2 separate regions of the Homo sapiens genome follow, and region 2 is linked to region 1. The links are contacts of gene promoters, found by promoter capture Hi-C in blood cells and fetal thymus (Javierre and others, 2016). All regions are on one chromosome and are shown on one strand. Each heading gives the region's core, a stretch centred on a gene start or on the middle of the fragment in contact. The rest is flanking DNA. Distances are from core to core; before and after follow the strand shown. Region 1 overlaps LINC02286 (long intergenic non-protein coding RNA 2286). Region 2 holds the start of GZMB (granzyme B).

The links. The method cuts DNA at HindIII sites, captures the fragments that hold promoters and counts their contacts. A CHiCAGO score of 5 or more calls a contact.
Region 2: the fragment with the promoter of GZMB here is called in contact with a fragment that was not itself captured in region 1 in 5 of 17 cell types (total CD8 T cells, total B cells, naive B cells and 2 more); the score reaches 9.6 in total CD8 T cells.

What each region holds. Positions count from the first base shown.
Region 1 is chr14:25,149,438-25,153,662 of GRCh38, reverse strand. The region is part of intron 2 of LINC02286 (long intergenic non-protein coding RNA 2286); the gene reads left to right. Among named protein-coding and RNA genes, the nearest start is that of LINC02286, 4.7 kb to the left of the region's middle. The HindIII fragment of the contact is 865 bases long and covers 1,370-2,234 here.
Region 2 is chr14:24,632,639-24,636,649 of GRCh38, reverse strand. It overlaps GZMB (granzyme B), which reads left to right and starts at 2,460. Exons shown (of 5, transcript NM_004131.6): 1 at 2,460-2,544; 2 at 3,588-3,735. The coding sequence starts at 2,490. GZMH-AS1 (GZMH and GMZB antisense RNA 1) reads right to left here and starts at 3,548. Exons shown (of 3, transcript XR_007064087.1): 1 at 3,302-3,548; 2 at 1-2,354. RefSeq lists an enhancer at 1,882-3,081. The HindIII fragment of the contact is 9,884 bases long and covers 1-4,011 here.

The DNA.
Region 1 (4,225 bases), core at 553-3,052:
CCGGGTGATACAATTAAAATTGAGATTTGAATGGGAACATGGCCAAACCATATCATGTATATATATGACATTTGATGGATGGAACTGGAGGACATTATGTTAAGTGAAATAAGCCAGGAACAAAAAGTTAAACACCACATGTTCTCATTCATATGTGGAAGCTAAAAAAAGTTAACATCATAGAGGTAAAAAGTAGAACAGAGGATACTAGAGGCTAAGAAGTGTAGGGGAAAAGGGATGGGAGGTAGGGAGAGATTTGTTAAAGGATACGAAATTATACCTAGATAGGAGGACTAAGTTCTAAAATTCTATAGCACTGTAGGTAACTATAGTTAATAACAATATAAAGGTTCAAATAGCTACAAGGAGGATATTGAATGCTCCTAACACAAAGAAATGATAAATATTTGAAATGATGGATATGCTAATTACTCCAATCTTATCATTACACATTGTTTGTATTGTCATATCACTACGTACCCCATAAATATGTATGATTATCTACCCATTTAAAAATTTTTTTAATTTAAAAAATAGAAGAAAAAACCTTAGCTTTGGAATTTGGCAGAGTTAAAAAACCTTAGCTTTAGAATTTAGAGTTGCAGAGACAAGAAAAATTTCCCAAAAGGTATCTATAGATATTAAAAAACATTACAGAAGATTAAAAAGGGAAAGGGTAGGTTTTATGGTAAAATAATTTAGGGATATACAGAGTAAGCAAAGGTAAGCAGATGTCTTTTCATTACTGCAGAACTTCTCAGCACCTTTAACAAGCTACTGTGAGTTCTAAATATTCAAAAGGAAGTTAACAGTATATGAATGACTCAAATTTATTTGACGAAATGATTATTTTTTCCACTGAGTACCTCCTAAAATAGTGTTTAGAAGACAGCCTATGGAAAACATGGCTTAAAGGATAGAGGATACCATTTTATAACCAGGTAGAAACAAGAAGTAAAAAAGGAGAGATTAAAGAAGCATTAAGGGATACCTGATGGGAGAAGGGCTCAGAAAGTATAAGAAGGGATGTGGCAAAAGTGAACAGGTGGAGGCTAGAAGGGTGCTTCTTCCTCAGCTGTCTGAGAGGCATAAAGAGAGAGGGAGAGAAAAAAGTGTCAGCACATCTACACAGAGCAAAGGGAGTGGAGGAAATTCACAGGGGAAGACTTCATTCTTTTCACAAAAGAAAAGGTTAGATGTGCATAAAGGACAAAGGGCAGGGTTGACTAAGGGAAAGAGAAATATAAAGCCATCAGGGCCTGGGAAGGGGCACCAGGAACAAGGAATAAGTGAAGAAAGGGAGATGGGACAATATCAATTTCAAAAATATGCTTTTATTAACTGTCAAGATTGTAATTATGCATAAGCTTTGACCTAAAATTTCATTTTAATGGCATTTACTCCATATATATATATATACACACACATATACTTGTATAAGTCTGTAGTTACAAGCCCTAGGATGTTTATTAAAACACTGGTTATATAGCAGAAAATTTTTAAAAACATCTACATGTAAATTACTTAAGGATAGTTAATAAATTAGCCCACATTCTTGTATCAGAACAGTAGATAGGCAGACAATAAGAATATACTGACTTGAAAAGATGTCCAAGATATTTTATTAAGTGAAGAAATCAATTTATAGAACAATATGTATAACATGAACCCATGTGAAATAAGACAGTGCGTGTGTGTGTGTGTGTGTGTGTGTGTGCGCGTGCGCACATGCATGCACACAAAAAAATGTCTGGTGGTTGCATGTCTAAGTACATAGTTCTAGGCTATGGTTTTGGCGGAACTCAGGCTGGAAAAAAAGGAGGAATTTTTACCTTTTACTTCATATCCTTCTGTTTGGACATTTTTACAGTAAGCACATACTGCATTTATAGTTGTTACAGTTTGTTCCTTTCTGGATCTGCACTCTTGAGACCCTCCTCCTTCTCCCCTGCAGCACGACTTTGCCTCCCAGCTCCCAAGAATCAAGGGCAGGCTGTACTCTCCTGATGTGACTCAGGCCCTCCTAGACCTCAGGGCCTCATGAAAGACAGAGTTTGCTTAGATTTACTGATAATTTCACTTTGTGACTTCACTTTGTGGCCAGTCCTTTCTGGCTCTCTGATCTTCAGACCACAAAAATGTCATCCAGCTCTAAGTTTGATCCCAATTCTACGCAGACTAGAAAGGGCATGCTGGGACAATGACAAAACATTAATTTTGGGGGCAAACAAGCTTTGTTTCCAATAAATAACATAGAATGAATTCCTGGAACATAAGTGTGTTATGTTCACCATAAATGTGTTACATAAGTGCAGCCTGATCACATAATACTAAAAAATCAGTAAAAATACCGATTTGAAATTATTTTTATAGAAACATGATTTTACCTGAACTTCCCTATTATTTTTTCTATGGACTCAAAATTCTTCTCTTATTTTTATTTTATTTATTTTCAAGGAGAAATTCATTGTCCGATATTCACTTTTCAGAAAATTCAGTCAAAATTTGCTTACAAGCCGTGCAGATGTTTCTTATAACCACTAGGGGTCAGACTACTACGTTAGTAGAAGTCAAACCCAACTTGAAACGTGGTATTAATTGGTTGAGGATCAGGCTGACATTCTCCTGCATAAGAACAGAAGACTGACCATTTAAATTAAACATTTTATAAAGGAGATAATGAGAAAGAATGCATTTGACAAGAGAGACTCAGAAAGTTGAAACTATCATATATATAATAAATATAACATAGTAAAGAAATTTCATCCTTAATAAAAATTTCAATTATTCACTTGCTCATTCTCATTGGCAAGATATTACTCCAGTCTAAGTGGGCTCAGATCAGAGGATTAATCATTGAACTGGGCAAATGTTAAGAGAGCAGAAACAACTAAAATCATGAAACTGTCAACAAAAAAGAAGAAATCCTCATTTATAAAGGATAAACCACATGACTAGCAGAGGATTGAGATGAATGGCAGAAACATTTTTCCAATGGATTTCAGCCATGGTAACAATAAATCTGAGTCATCTCACAGCAATGGGTGTATTCAGGAGTGTGGGCAGAGGGCAGCTCTGGACTGGGCCTCTGTTCCACTCCCAGCTCTGCCACAAATTGACCCTGTGGTCCTGAACACACTCCTTCTCTTCTCCTGATCTCAAAATGTCTTGAGTAAGATTACATGATTTATAAAGAATCTTCAGGCCTTAAAATTAAACAGATTTATCTAACAATATTGTTACATAAAAGGTAAGAAAGTGAGGGGAAAACTTGCCAAGATTTAAGTTTTAACAAAAATTTTACAAATGAGGGTATTCACTCTCAAGATACATTATTACAAATTGTGTTTTTTAAAAATGGAACAAACTGAGATCATAGACCATATTTACTGTCAGACAAAGTAATAAAAAGTCAAAATTTATTTACATTTTTAATGATAGTGTTTTGAAGTAAATACTCTAAGTGTATATGTAAACATATATGCGGGTTATTCCCTGGAATGATAAACAAATTAAAAAGTGGTTACCTGTTGGGGGCGGGGTAGAATTAAATGGATATGGATAGTGTGGCTATAAGAATATAAGGTTTGCTTCTTCATATATTGTTTTGATGTTTTTGTGATTGTATTATATGATGTATTACATTTTTTAAATTTTGAATATATCCATTGCCTATTCAAATTTTTTAAAAATTAATTTTAAACTTTATACATAGGACAAAAATGTGGGCCAATACAAAAATAAACACAACTGAATATGAAAATCCTCCATGATTTGAATGGGGGTTAGAAATGACACAGGGATATTCGTTACTAATATAAGTTGGCAATACAACAGTGATACTGTGTTTTAAATGGCCTGCATCAAAATACCTCAACCAAATTGGTCACATCTTAATGGTTGTATCTAAAGATTTTATTTGGTAGATTTTTCACCTGTGCCCCAAACCCTCACTGAGCTGCTTATACCTCATATGACACCAAATCAGGAGAAGGAAGAAGTTCCTCCCTCCCCCTTTTTTCTTTACATACACACATGCATGCACACACAGGCACACACTGGCTTGTGTGTCAATGAATATTAATATATGCAAATAAACAATGGAGATGGTTACAGGGAAATTGATTCTGCAAATTGCTAACCTAACTCACAGCCTTCTCAATATACAGGTCAAATGTAATTTCTATCAAAATTCCAGCAAGAGAATTTGTAGATGTAGACAAGA
Region 2 (4,011 bases), core at 1,211-3,710, 520 kb after region 1:
AAAACAAAAACAACGCAATTTTAAGAATGGGCAAAGGACTTGAATCAACATTTCTCCAAAGAAGATATGCGAATAACCAGCAAACACATGAAGTGATGCTCAACATCATTACTCATAAAGGAAATGTGAATCAAAACCATATGACATACTACTTTACACCCATTAGGATGAAGATAATAATTTTAAAATAACAAGTGTCAGCAAGGATGCAGAGAAATAGGAACTTTCCTATGTTGCTGATAAGCAATGCAAAAGGGTACAACCACTGTGGAAAACAGTTTGGTGGTTCCTTAAAAAATTAAAAATAGGATTATTGTATAACTCAGAAATTCCAAAAGTATATATATTTGGTATATATCCAAAAGAACTGAAAACATATTGTTCATGCAGAAATTTGTACACAAATGCTTATTATTGCTGCATTAGCTACAATAGCCAAAAGATGAAAACAACCCAAATGTCCATTGACAGATGAACAAATAACTTGTGGTATAAACATACAATGGGAATATTATTTTTCCATTAAAAAGAACGAATACTGGCATGTGCTACAGCTTGTATGAATCTCAGAAACATTATTACAAGTGAATGTAGCCAGCCACAACAGGTCATGTATTGTGTGATTCCGTTTATATGAAATATCCAGAGGTGGTGGTTGCAGATTTTGAATGTGCTAAATGTCACTGAATTGAATACTTTAAAATGGTTAATTGTATGTTATGTGAATTTTACCTCAATTTTTTAAATGGGTCATAAACTTATGTTTAGCATAATCCCCTTTTAATTTTAAAAAATGCAGATATTACATGAGAAAAAATGTGCTAGAGCATATTTCAAGACATTAAAGATGGTTATCAGTGAATGATGAGAAATTAGGTAATGTTTATTATTTTCGCTTTGCTAAAATTATTTAAAAATTACTTGCATATTAAATTTTTTAATGCCTAGGAAAGAAAGACTATAGTTGTATTGACTAAGATTTCTACGAGCATGGGGAAAATGCTTAATTTGTAGGGTTAATCAAGGATAAAATAAATTGCATTGTATGTACAATGTGATCCCAAGTATTTAAAACACACTGCTTATGGTAACAGTCAGTCTGTGGGAGACAGGTTAAAAAGTGATATTTTCCCTTCCTACTTTCCAAATTTTCTTAACAAACATATATTATGACTATAATCAGAAAAAATTATTTTTAAAACGTCTACTATGGGGCAAGCTAGGTTCAAAAAATAGAAGTTTGATAAATGTAGTTGGCTTGCTATTGACAAGGAAGACGTTTACACTGGAATTCTATATTTTGAGATATACCATTCCTCATAGAAAAATTTCCTCACAGAAAATATAAAGGTGGAAACAAATCACAAGAATCGAACCATGTAGAGAGACTTAGTTGTCTTTTAACAGAATTGGGCACGGGCTGTTCAGAAACAACAATCTTTCACATCCATTATAATGATAGCATTAGTGTAGTTTGTTTAGCAAATGTTTACTGTGAGCCTGTTATGTGCTGAGCCTGCTATGTAAGAAGTGTGGCTCTCTGGACAGGAGACAGAATACTAAACAACACAACTACTGATCTTTGGCTGCCTGGCATGCTTCCTCACTTCATATGGTATCAGCAATTTAGCACCACAAACGTCCTTTAGAGAACCAGCCCTTTCTCATTCTTGGTTCTAGTGGCTTGAGTAGACTGACCCCAGCCTACCCAAAGTGGATTTGACTCCTAGCAATTCATTAATCTAGCCCAATAAAATGTCAAGTACAGGACTTTTATTGAAAGCATTCAGAAAAGAGGTGGACTCTCACACTAAACATTTGTAACTAAATAAGGGATGTTAGAAATTCTCTAGAAAGGAAGCTATGATAATAAATGGGTTGCTAGATGGGTCTAGTAGATGGTGGCCATGCTTTGTTACTGCCTTGTGTATTGTGCTACCATAGCCCTCCCCAAACTGTACTCTGGCTCCTGGCATTTCCGTCTCTTCAACCAGATGGTCAGCTCTCTAAGTGAAGGAGACACATCTCCAACATGCTTGGTTCTAGCACAACAGAAGGGCTCAAACACATACCTGCTAAAGAAACTATCCTGATGGATTTAGCAGCATGGCCATGAGGCATTGGCGGTTCTATCACTGGGAACTCAGGTTTCTGGTGCTCCAGTACCTCTACTGGCTGATACCACATCCTACAATTCACTTCATAGGCTTGGGTTCCTGCTCTGGGCTGAATAGGTGGTCCACTCTGAGTCATCAGCTGTGGGTGATGATGTGGTCACTGCATGATTCTCACACAAGCACCCAGAGGACGTCATCAGGCAGAGGCAGTGGGGGTGGGCAGCATTTACAGAAAATCTGTGATGAGACACCACAAAACCAGAGGGGAACATGAAGTCACTGAGCCTGCTCCACCTCTTTCCTCTCCCAAGAGCTAAAAGAGAGCAAGGAGGAAACAACAGCAGCTCCAACCAGGGCAGCCTTCCTGAGAAGATGCAACCAATCCTGCTTCTGCTGGCCTTCCTCCTGCTGCCCAGGGCAGATGCAGGTGAGTGACCGTCTCCACCCTCGGGGGCCCAACCCCATCCCACAGGTCTCCTGCCCTTTCTCCACATTCCTGATCCATCTATCTACCAGGAATGTTCTGAACTCCAGCTCCCATTCTACCAAGACCCCCCAAGTGTGATGCTGGATAAGCTATCAGCAGGAATGGCAGAGCAGCAGGCCATTCTCAAGAAGAGCCAGTGGGTACTATCCCTTCCCCAGAGCCCACCTTTGTCACCTGGAGAGTAGGACTTTCCTAGAAGTAAATGGCAGAGGATGGGAAACTAGAAAAGAGAAATATTAAATTATTCTAGAGTAGGCCTGGCTTCTGTTTCTGGGATAAGACAGGTGCTTCTCTCACTGTCTACTTAGGAGAGAAACCCAGAGCTCAGCTGACAGCAGAATTGGTACAATCACTGTCCTCAGAACACTGTTAATGTGTTTGCTCAGTCCCATTCTCCAACTCTGCTTTTCTTCCCTGGCCTTTGGTGGCTCCCCTCTTTCCAAGGATGAGGCACTACGGCAGGCCCCAGCTTCCCTGCTTTCTAGAATTCCACCAGCACTGCTCTACCAGCCCTCATCCAGAGGCTAACTGGAGCCAGTCCATCATGCAGCCATGAACATTTACTGGGCACCCACTACATGTCAGGCTCTAGGAAACAGGATATGACAGTATCTAGATCCCTCCACTTACACCCTGGCCATTAGAAAGCAGCACTATCCTAGACACCACAGGACTCATAAGGGTCTTGGAAACTCACCTGAAACAAAGCAAAGTCAGGAGAGGAATGATCAGGAGCCTCTGGGATTTCACTGTCCCTAAGACAGGTATGCTCGCCTTCAACTACATATGGAAGAAAGATTTACAGACCAAAGTCTGCTGTTCTTCCCTTTTTCAGAGCAGGAAATTGAAGCCCCTTCCTCCAGGCCACTCCCAACTCCAGGCTATCCCAGGCTCCCAAATGCCCAGGAGTTCTGGAGCCACTAAGCAGGTGCCCACCCAGCAGATTCCATGGGTGCCCACAAGCAGACAGACTTTTCCTTCAGGGGAGATCATCGGGGGACATGAGGCCAAGCCCCACTCCCGCCCCTACATGGCTTATCTTATGATCTGGGATCAGAAGTCTCTGAAGAGGTGCGGTGGCTTCCTGATACGAGACGACTTCGTGCTGACAGCTGCTCACTGTTGGGGAAGGTGAGGAGCAGAAAACAGCCCACACCCTCCTGGAAACACTCCACAGAGACCCCTGCCTTCTTCCCAAGGAGCTCCCTGGGCTCCTGTGAACACACATGCCAGGAGGTCTCCTTAGAGGGTGAGAAAAGGGCAGTTAAGTTTGTGGAGAGAGGGGAAGGTTGGTTCCAGAGGTGCTGCTGAAGTAAGAAACAGCAGAGTGACCAAGCCTGCCATATTTAGAACTGGGGGCATACTTTGGCATAGAATACAAACTGAAGCAATTCCACCTGTGTTTCT